Regions from separate parts of the Homo sapiens genome. Here all the other regions are linked to region 2. The links are contacts of gene promoters, found by promoter capture Hi-C in human tissues and cell types (Jung and others, 2019). All regions are on one chromosome and are shown on one strand. Each heading gives the region's core, a stretch centred on a gene start or on the middle of the fragment in contact. The rest is flanking DNA. Distances are from core to core; before and after follow the strand shown. Region 1 has its middle 120 kb from the start of WDR75. Region 2 holds the start of COL5A2 (collagen type V alpha 2 chain). Region 3 overlaps COL5A2 (collagen type V alpha 2 chain).

Region 1 (2,700 bases), core at 100-2,599, 140 kb before region 2:
CTGCCGTCATTATTGTGTGGGAGTCTAAGTCTCTTTGTAGGTCTAAGTAGCAAGTCTAAGGACTTGCTTTATGAAGCTGGGTGCTCCTGTATTGGGTGCATATATATTTAGGATAGTTAGCTCTTCTTGTTGAATTGATCCCTTTACCTTTATGTAATGGCCTTCTTTGTCTCTTTTGATCTTTGTTGGCTTAAAATTTGTTTTATCAGAGACTAGGATTGCAACCCCTGCCATTTTTTGTTTTCCATTTGCTTGTAGATCTTCCTCCATCCCTTTATTTTGAGCCTATGTGTGTCTCTGCACGTGAGATGGGTTTCCTGAATACAGCACACTGATGGGTCTTGACTCTTTATCCAATTTTCCAGTCTGTGTCTTTTAATTGGAACATTTAGCCCATTTACATTTACAGTTAATATTGTTATGTGTGAATTTGATCCTGTCATCATTATGTTAGCTGGTTATTTTACTCGTTAGTTGATGCAGTTTCCTCCTAGCATCGATGGTCTTTACAATTTGGCATGTTTTTGCAGTGGCTGGTACTGGTTGTTCCTCTCCATGTTTAGTGCTTCCTTCAGGAGCTGTTGTAGGGCAGGCCTGGTGGTGATAAAATCTCTCAGCATTTGCTTGTCTATAAAGGATTTTATTTCTCCTTCACTTATGAAGCTTAGTTTGGCTGGATATGAAATTCTGGGTTGAAAATTCTTTTCTTTAAGAATGTTGAATATTGGCCCCCACTCTCTTCTGGCTTGTAGAGTTTCTGCCCAGAGATCCACTGTTAGTCTGATAGGCTTCCCTGTGTGGGTAACCCGACCTTTCTCTCTGGCTGCCCTTAACATTTTTTCCTTCATTTCAACTTTGGTGAATCTGACAATTATGTGTCTTGGAGTTGCTCTTCTCGAGGAGTATCTTTGTGGCGTTCTCTGTATTTCTTGAATTTGAATGTTGGCCTTCCTTGCTAGGTTGGGGAAGTTCTCCTGGATAATAACCTGAAGAATGTTTTCCAACTTGGTTCCATTCTCCCCATCACTTTCAGGTACACCAATCAGACGTAGATTTGGTCTTTTCACATAGTCCCATATTTCTTGGAGGCTTTGTTGATTTCTTCTTATTCTTTTTTCTCTAAACTTCTTTTCTCACTTTATTTCATTCATTTGATCTTCAATCACTGATACTCTTTCTTCCAGTTGATCGAGTCGGCTACTGAAGCTTGTGCATTTGTCACGTAGTTCTCGTGCCATGGTTTTCAGCCCCATCAGGTCCTTTAAGGACTTCTCTGCATTGGTTATTCTAGTTAGCCATTCGTGTAATCTTTTTTCAAGGTTTTTAACTTCTTTGCAATGGGTTCAAACTTCCCCCTTTAGCTCGGAGACGTTTGATCGTCTGAAGCCTTCTTCTCTCAACTCATCAAAGTCATTCTCTGTCCAGCTTTGTTCTGTTGCTGGTGAGGAGCTGCATTCCTTTGGAGGAGGAGAGGCGCTCTGATTTTTAGAATTTTCAGTTTTTCTGCTCTGTTTTATCCCCATCTTTGTGTTTTTTATCTACCTTTGGTCTTTGATGATGGTGACGTACAGATGGGTTTTTGGTGTGGATGTCCTTTCTGTTTGTTAGTTTTCCTTTTAATAGTCGGAATCCTCAGCTGCAGGTCTGTTGGAATTTGCGGGAGTTCTACTCCAGACCCTGTTTGCCTGGATATCAGCAGTGGAGGCTGCAGAACAGTGAATATTGCTGAACAGCAAATGTTGCTGTCTGATCATTCCTCTGGAGGTTTTGTCTCAGAGGGGTACCCGGCCATGTGAGATGTCAGTCTGCCCCTACTGGGGGGGTGCCTCCCAGATAGGCTACCTGGGGGTCAGGGACCCACTTGAGGATGCAGTCTGTCCATTCTCAGATCTCAAACTCTGTGCTGGAAGAACCACTACTCTCTTCAAGGCTGTCAGACAGGGACATTTAAGTCTGCAGAGGTTTCTGCTGCCTTTTGTTCGGCTACGCCCTGCTCCCAGAGGTGGAGTCTACAGAGCAGGCCAGCCTCCTTGAGCTGCAGTGGGCTCCACCCAGTTCAAGCTTCCTGGTCGCTTTGTTTACCTACTCAAGCCTCAGCAATGGCGGGCGCCCCTCCCCGAGCCTGGCTGCTGCCTTGCAGTTTGATCTCAGACTGCTATGCTAGCAATGAGCAAGGCTCCGTGGGCGTGGGACCCTCCGAGCCAGGCACGGGATATAATCTCCTGGTGTGCTGTTTGCTAAGACCATTGGAAAAGCGCAGTATTAGTGTGGGAGTGACCTGATTTTCCAGGTGCAGTCTGTCACAGCTTTGCTTGGCTATGAAAGGGAATTATCTGACCCCTTGCACTTCCCGGATTAGGCGATGCCTCGCCCTGCTTCGGCTCACGCTTGGTGCGCTGCATCCAGTGTCCTGCACCTACTGTCTGACAAGCCCCAGTGAGATGAACCCAGTACCTAAGTTGGAAATGCAGAAATCACCCATCTTCTGCGCCGCTCACGCTGGGAGCTGTAGACTGGAGCTGTTCCTATTCGGCCATCTTGCAGTCTCTTTCTTTAACATGTCATGTTTTATTTTAACAATTTATTCAAAATTTCATTTAATTTCATGCCATATCCATGTTTGTTTTAATATAAAATCAGTAACAGGCAAGGTTATTTTTTTTTCTCAAATATGTCTAAAATAGACATCCCTGGCAGCTG
Region 2 (2,700 bases), core at 144-2,643:
ATCTCATTTGATAATTTCTCCTTTCTCCGGGCTTAATGCATCCCTCACATATTTATATGCTCTGGCTTATATATCTTTATTTCTTGTAAATTTAGTTTCTCAACACCTACATATGTTCCTTGAAGGTGATGGGTATGTCTTTTATTTCTTTTATGTCATCCTTTCTGCCCAGTGCTTAGCACAGTGCAAGGCACCTGTTGCCCAATAATTATAAACAATTGACTCACTTGTATTGTATAGAACATCCATCCTGATTCTAGGGAGACTCAAGGTGGCAAATACATTAGATTGTATAGAACTCTCTGAGGTCATTAAGATCTTGGCAAGTGTGAGGGTGGCACAAAAGTTCATCGATAATTTTCCTTAAAATGCATGTTCAACTGGGGCTATCATATTCCCTGCAAAGCTGGCTTAAAGCTAATAATACCACCATCTGCTTTTATGTAGCTCTTTGCAATTTGGAGCTTCATTAATAATACATTACTCATTTTAGTGTCACTAAACCCTGTACACTGGTCAGGGTAAAGCCCTTTTCTCAAATGAGAAAATTGGAGTGCACAGAGATAAAGGACTATATGCACATTTACAAAATTATTGAGTGGCAGAACCACTCACAAAAGGCAGAAGCAAGCCTTTTTTCATCCAAAGGTAGAGTACTTCCCATTCCTCTGCACTGCTTAGTAGACTATTTTTCAACATGGTAAAACTCTCTGGGACAAGAGGAACCTGAAGATGTGGCCCCTTAACAAGAGATGTGGAGAAATTAGGAAAGGACATGCTTTCTTAATTCAAATTACAATGTATCACAAATTCATTTATCCAAAATGGTTTTCTAACCTGGACTTTACCTGGGCAACATTCTAATAATCTCCTTCCAGAGTATGGGAAAAGAAACCGAATCTGAGAAGGGGATAAGAATACTCCCTATTCAGTCAAAAGAAAGGGTTAAAATGTGATTGTTTAAAGATTTAAGGTGGAGAAGAGAGTCTTGAATTATCTAAATGTAAAAAAACTAGGGTAAAAGGCTGGATTTCCTTCGGAATGTCTTTTTCAGCTTATAGGGGAAAAGTTAAAGGGTGTGTGTCTGGGGGGAAGGGTTAGGGAGGGGAAAATAGAACCCTTTTCTTCTAACAGCCTTTCTTAAAAAATAAAAGAAAAGAGAAACAAATGTTTGTTTCTGTTATTAAGCCCCATCTATGCTTAAAAGTTAAATGAAATAGGGAAAGTTCAGGCACAGAGACGCGTGTTCTGATTTGGTTGTTTACCATCAATCAGACCGTTGCTTGGCAGACACTGGATGGTTATGAGCCTGAACAAGCTGAAAAGGGGCAGGAAAAGAAGTGGAGGCAGCATTCTTCCTATTTAAAGCTGCATCGCTTGAAAAAAGTTTTCGCAGACTGTGCTGGAGCTGGTGCTGAAAAAGGGGGTTTGCAGAGGCTGCCCTGGGGCTGGTGCTGAAAGAAGAGCCCACAGCTGACTTCATGGTGCTACAATAACCTCAGAATCTACTTTTCACTCTCAGGAGAACCCACATGTCTAATATTTAGACATGATGGCAAACTGGGCGGAAGCAAGACCTCTCCTCATTCTTATTGTTTTATTAGGGCAATTTGTCTCAATAAAAGCCCAGGAAGAAGACGAGGATGGTGAGTTTGCCATTTGCTTTGCTTGTAGTGTTTATTGCACGGTTTGGGAAATAGGTGGAATGTTAAGCCTCAGGAAGAGCGTGAAGAGGAGGTTCTGGTTTGAAGTTTGAGAAGGGGGCTGACGGATTTGCACCTGGAAAACGACTTGAAAGACAATTGGGATGTTTGTAAATCCGGAGCTTCTAGATCCACCGTTGGAGAGAGTACACTACTAAATTTTTCTGGGAAAGCCTACAATAAGTCCTTTTGGCTGAGTGTGAGAGTGGGACGTTTAAAATAAGAAAAGAGTGAATGCTTAAAACGGAGCACTAAAGGCATTTTAGTTAGAGGAGCTCTGTTCTGTGGGCTGGAGTTTTCAGAGCAAGGAAAAGTCGCGGCAGAAGCTGGGTAGGGTGGAGTCTTTTTGTACTGAACTTCAGCTGCTTCATAAAATTCTTTGTTTAGTAAAACCTCTGCAGCAACTCTGATAGCTTTGATTTTTCTTTGTCTTTGGCTCCTCATTCTTTCCTCTTTAACAATTTAAACTTCTTTTTACCATTTTCATTTGTGAAAATGTGATCACTTTTGCTTACTGGGAGGCAGTCTCGTTTGTTTCTCCATGACAGAGGCTGATAGAAGCCAGATTTCTTAAACAGTGGTATTTTCCCACCCTACTGGCTTGATTAACAGGACAGTGGTGGTTCCCGGTTGGATGGCGGAAGGCAGGAAATCAGCATGTCTTGTATATATCTTATTTGGCATGGAATATTTGCATGGACATTACCCCTTAGACCCAAGCTTTTTTTTTTTTTTTTTTTTAAAGATAAATCTTGCCTGGTGACCACATTTTTTTCCTATGCAATTTTCATATGTTACAGTTGGGTTATATGGTATGGTTAAGCAAAAATGCATAGCTGTTGTAGTATATAAGAAAATATTTAAATTGATTCCTCTATTAAATCTTTAATCTTGAGGGTTGCAATTTCAAATACAGACATGTACTCCTTTAAAATAAGCCACTGTAGATTTTCATCAACTCAACCATGTAACATCAAACTCAAGCTTTTAAAACTTT
Region 3 (2,700 bases), core at 108-2,607, 140 kb after region 2:
ACGGGGATCTTGTACTGACTTTGGGGCCTTATAAAGTCTCTGAACTTTTTGGAGACTCAGTTTTGCCAGTTTAAAGTAAGGGTGATAATATTTATTCCATAGTTTCCATGTGGATATAAAATTCTTAGTTTAGGGTCTCTTGTACTATGGGATAGATGGTAAATTAATATTAGATAACTACTATAATAATGTCTAAATAATTGAATCATTTTGTAAAATTTTTAATATTATTTAAACTTAAGGCATTTTTGTAATGTTATGAAGTCAATTGATATTTTTCTGAGTCCCAGTCTACCCTGTTTCTATCATGGTCTGGTGTTCAGACAACTGTCTGGCCTTTCCACTGCCTGTTGCAATGTGAATATTTCATTCTGCATCTCTTTATGGCAGCCTAATTGAAATTTTCTTCTCACTTCTGCTTCTGACCTTTTCCTAGAAATCACGTTCAGAATAAACATTATGAGAACATTATGGGTGTATACAAGATAAGCTAGTATCTGTCATTATTTAATGAGCACAAAATTTTAAATTTTAAATATAAATAGTTGAAATATAATTTAGCTAATATAATATGTAAAATAAAACCCCCAAATGGGAGTGCTGAAACCAAAGCTAAAGTAGAAGGTGAGTAGGAAAGAGTCTCTAGAAAAATTTTTTTGATTATTTTTGTTAGCACATGGAAAACTTTTAATATGTATTTCCTACAATTGTGTAATAGTTGGGGTCAAAAGATTTTATACTACTAGTTAATTCTAATTTTTATTATAATTAGCAATAAAAATGAGTTATTTTTGATACATGAGTGAAGCAGATTTAAAAATACTTATGCTTGTTCTCGTGAATTATTGTTATTATTGGTTTCATTACCCTTTGGGTTAATAAGGACAGAGGTTCTTTTGAGTATTCATAGACATTTTAAGATATGTTTAGATGTACAGCTAGAATAGCTTACTTTATGACAAGAATTAAAGTAATACTCTTCAAAATTGATTTATCTGAAATCAATTTATATATTTATCTATACATGTGTAAGGCATTATGAAACCCTTCAGTCTTGTGTATGACAAAGACTCTTTGTTTTTCTAGTTCGCTTATGGAGACCACCAATCACCTAATACAGCCATTACTCAGATGACTTTTTTGCGCCTTTTATCAAAAGAAGCCTCCCAGAACATCACTTACATCTGTAAAAACAGTGTAGGATACATGGACGATCAAGCTAAGAACCTCAAAAAAGCTGTGGTTCTCAAAGGGGCAAATGACTTAGATATCAAAGCAGAGGGAAATATTAGATTCCGGTATATCGTTCTTCAAGACACTTGCTCTGTAAGTACTTTTTGATCTACATTGATCTGGTTGAGGAAAAAAAATTATTTTTGTTAAAAATACTATTACAGCACTAGAACTGGGGGCAATTTTACCTTGTATATGAGCATAATAGCAGTTTGTTTATAGTCATTCCTTAGGGTAAATGTGTGTGTGTTAGCACATGAAGCATGATAGAGGTTTGAATCCATATAGTAAAGAAAGAACTGGATCCCTAAGATCTGATCCAGTTCTTCTGCAGACTTTCTTTGGTTCTTTTCCAAGTTATTTAACTTACTGAATCTCAGTCCCATGCTTAAAATTCCTTATTTCTAAAATGCGTAATTAATCCAAGATACTTTATTTTTTCCACCAATTTGTAAGTAAGTCTCCCCGCTTGCATATTGAGATATAAAACGAAAATAATACTAAATGGTGAATTATAGTTTCATTTGTGAAAAACAAAAAAGCTTTCATAATTTATGTTGCTAGTGACCATTTGGGAAGCTGCAGAAGAACAAAGGAAATTTACTTAAAGCATGAAAGAAATTCTGTTACATAAGTACACTAATATTTCACTTTATGTTTTCATTCCTTTTTTTTAAGTAGTACTCTAAAAATCATTGCCTTTACATTATAAAAGTGTCTGGGAAGGTTGCTGTCTAACATACTTGGAAAAAATTGTATGTACATTTAACCCATTGCATCATTTAATTTCAGAAGCGGAATGGAAATGTGGGCAAGACTGTCTTTGAATATAGAACACAGAATGTGGCACGCTTGCCCATCATAGATCTTGCTCCTGTGGATGTTGGCGGCACAGACCAGGAATTCGGCGTTGAAATTGGGCCAGTTTGTTTTGTGTAAAGTAAGCCAAGACACATCGACAATGAGCACCACCATCAATGACCACCGCCATTCACAAGAACTTTGACTGTTTGAAGTTGATCCTGAGACTCTTGAAGTAATGGCTGATCCTGCATCAGCATTGTATATATGGTCTTAAGTGCCTGGCCTCCTTATCCTTCAGAATATTTATTTTACTTACAATCCTCAAGTTTTAATTGATTTTAAATATTTTTCAATACAACAGTTTAGGTTTAAGATGACCAATGACAATGACCACCTTTGCAGAAAGTAAACTGATTGAATAAATAAATCTCCGTTTTCTTCAATTTATTTCAGTGTAATGAAAAAGTTGCTTAGTATTTATGAGGAAATTCTTCTTCCTGGCAGGTAGCTTAAAGAGTGGGGTATATAGAGCCACAACACATGTTTATTTTGCTTGGCTGCAGTTGAAAAATAGAAATTAGTGCCCTTTTGTGACCTCTCATTCCAAGATTGTCAATTAAAAATGAGTTTAAAATGTTTAACTTGTGATCGAGACCTACATGC

Evidence for each region. The method cuts DNA at HindIII sites, captures the fragments that hold promoters and counts their contacts. A contact is called where the count stands out against the background at its distance.
Region 1: a fragment that was not itself captured here is called in contact with the fragment with the promoter of COL5A2 in region 2 in 5 of the 25 tissues and cell types used here (H1 embryonic stem cells, aorta, pancreas and 2 more).
Region 3: a contact is called between a fragment that was not itself captured here and the fragment with the promoter of COL5A2 in region 2, in 1 of the 25 tissues and cell types used here (IMR-90 fibroblasts).

The regions. Positions count from the first base shown.
Region 1 is chr2:189,319,032-189,321,731 of GRCh38, reverse strand. It overlaps a transcript of COL5A2 not described here. Among named protein-coding and RNA genes, the nearest start is that of WDR75, 120 kb to the left of the region's middle. The HindIII fragment of the contact is 3,265 bases long and covers 1-2,700 here.
Region 2 is chr2:189,178,454-189,181,153 of GRCh38, reverse strand. It overlaps COL5A2 (collagen type V alpha 2 chain), which reads left to right and starts at 1,393. Exons shown (of 54, transcript NM_000393.5): 1 at 1,393-1,646. The coding sequence starts at 1,550. The HindIII fragment of the contact is 11,142 bases long and covers 1-2,700 here.
Region 3 is chr2:189,033,542-189,036,241 of GRCh38, reverse strand. COL5A2 (collagen type V alpha 2 chain) reads left to right here. Exons shown (of 54, transcript NM_000393.5): 53 at 1,087-1,326; 54 at 2,026-2,700. The coding sequence ends at 2,172. Among named protein-coding and RNA genes, the nearest start is that of MIR3606, 39 kb to the right of the region's middle. The HindIII fragment of the contact is 3,993 bases long and covers 1-2,700 here.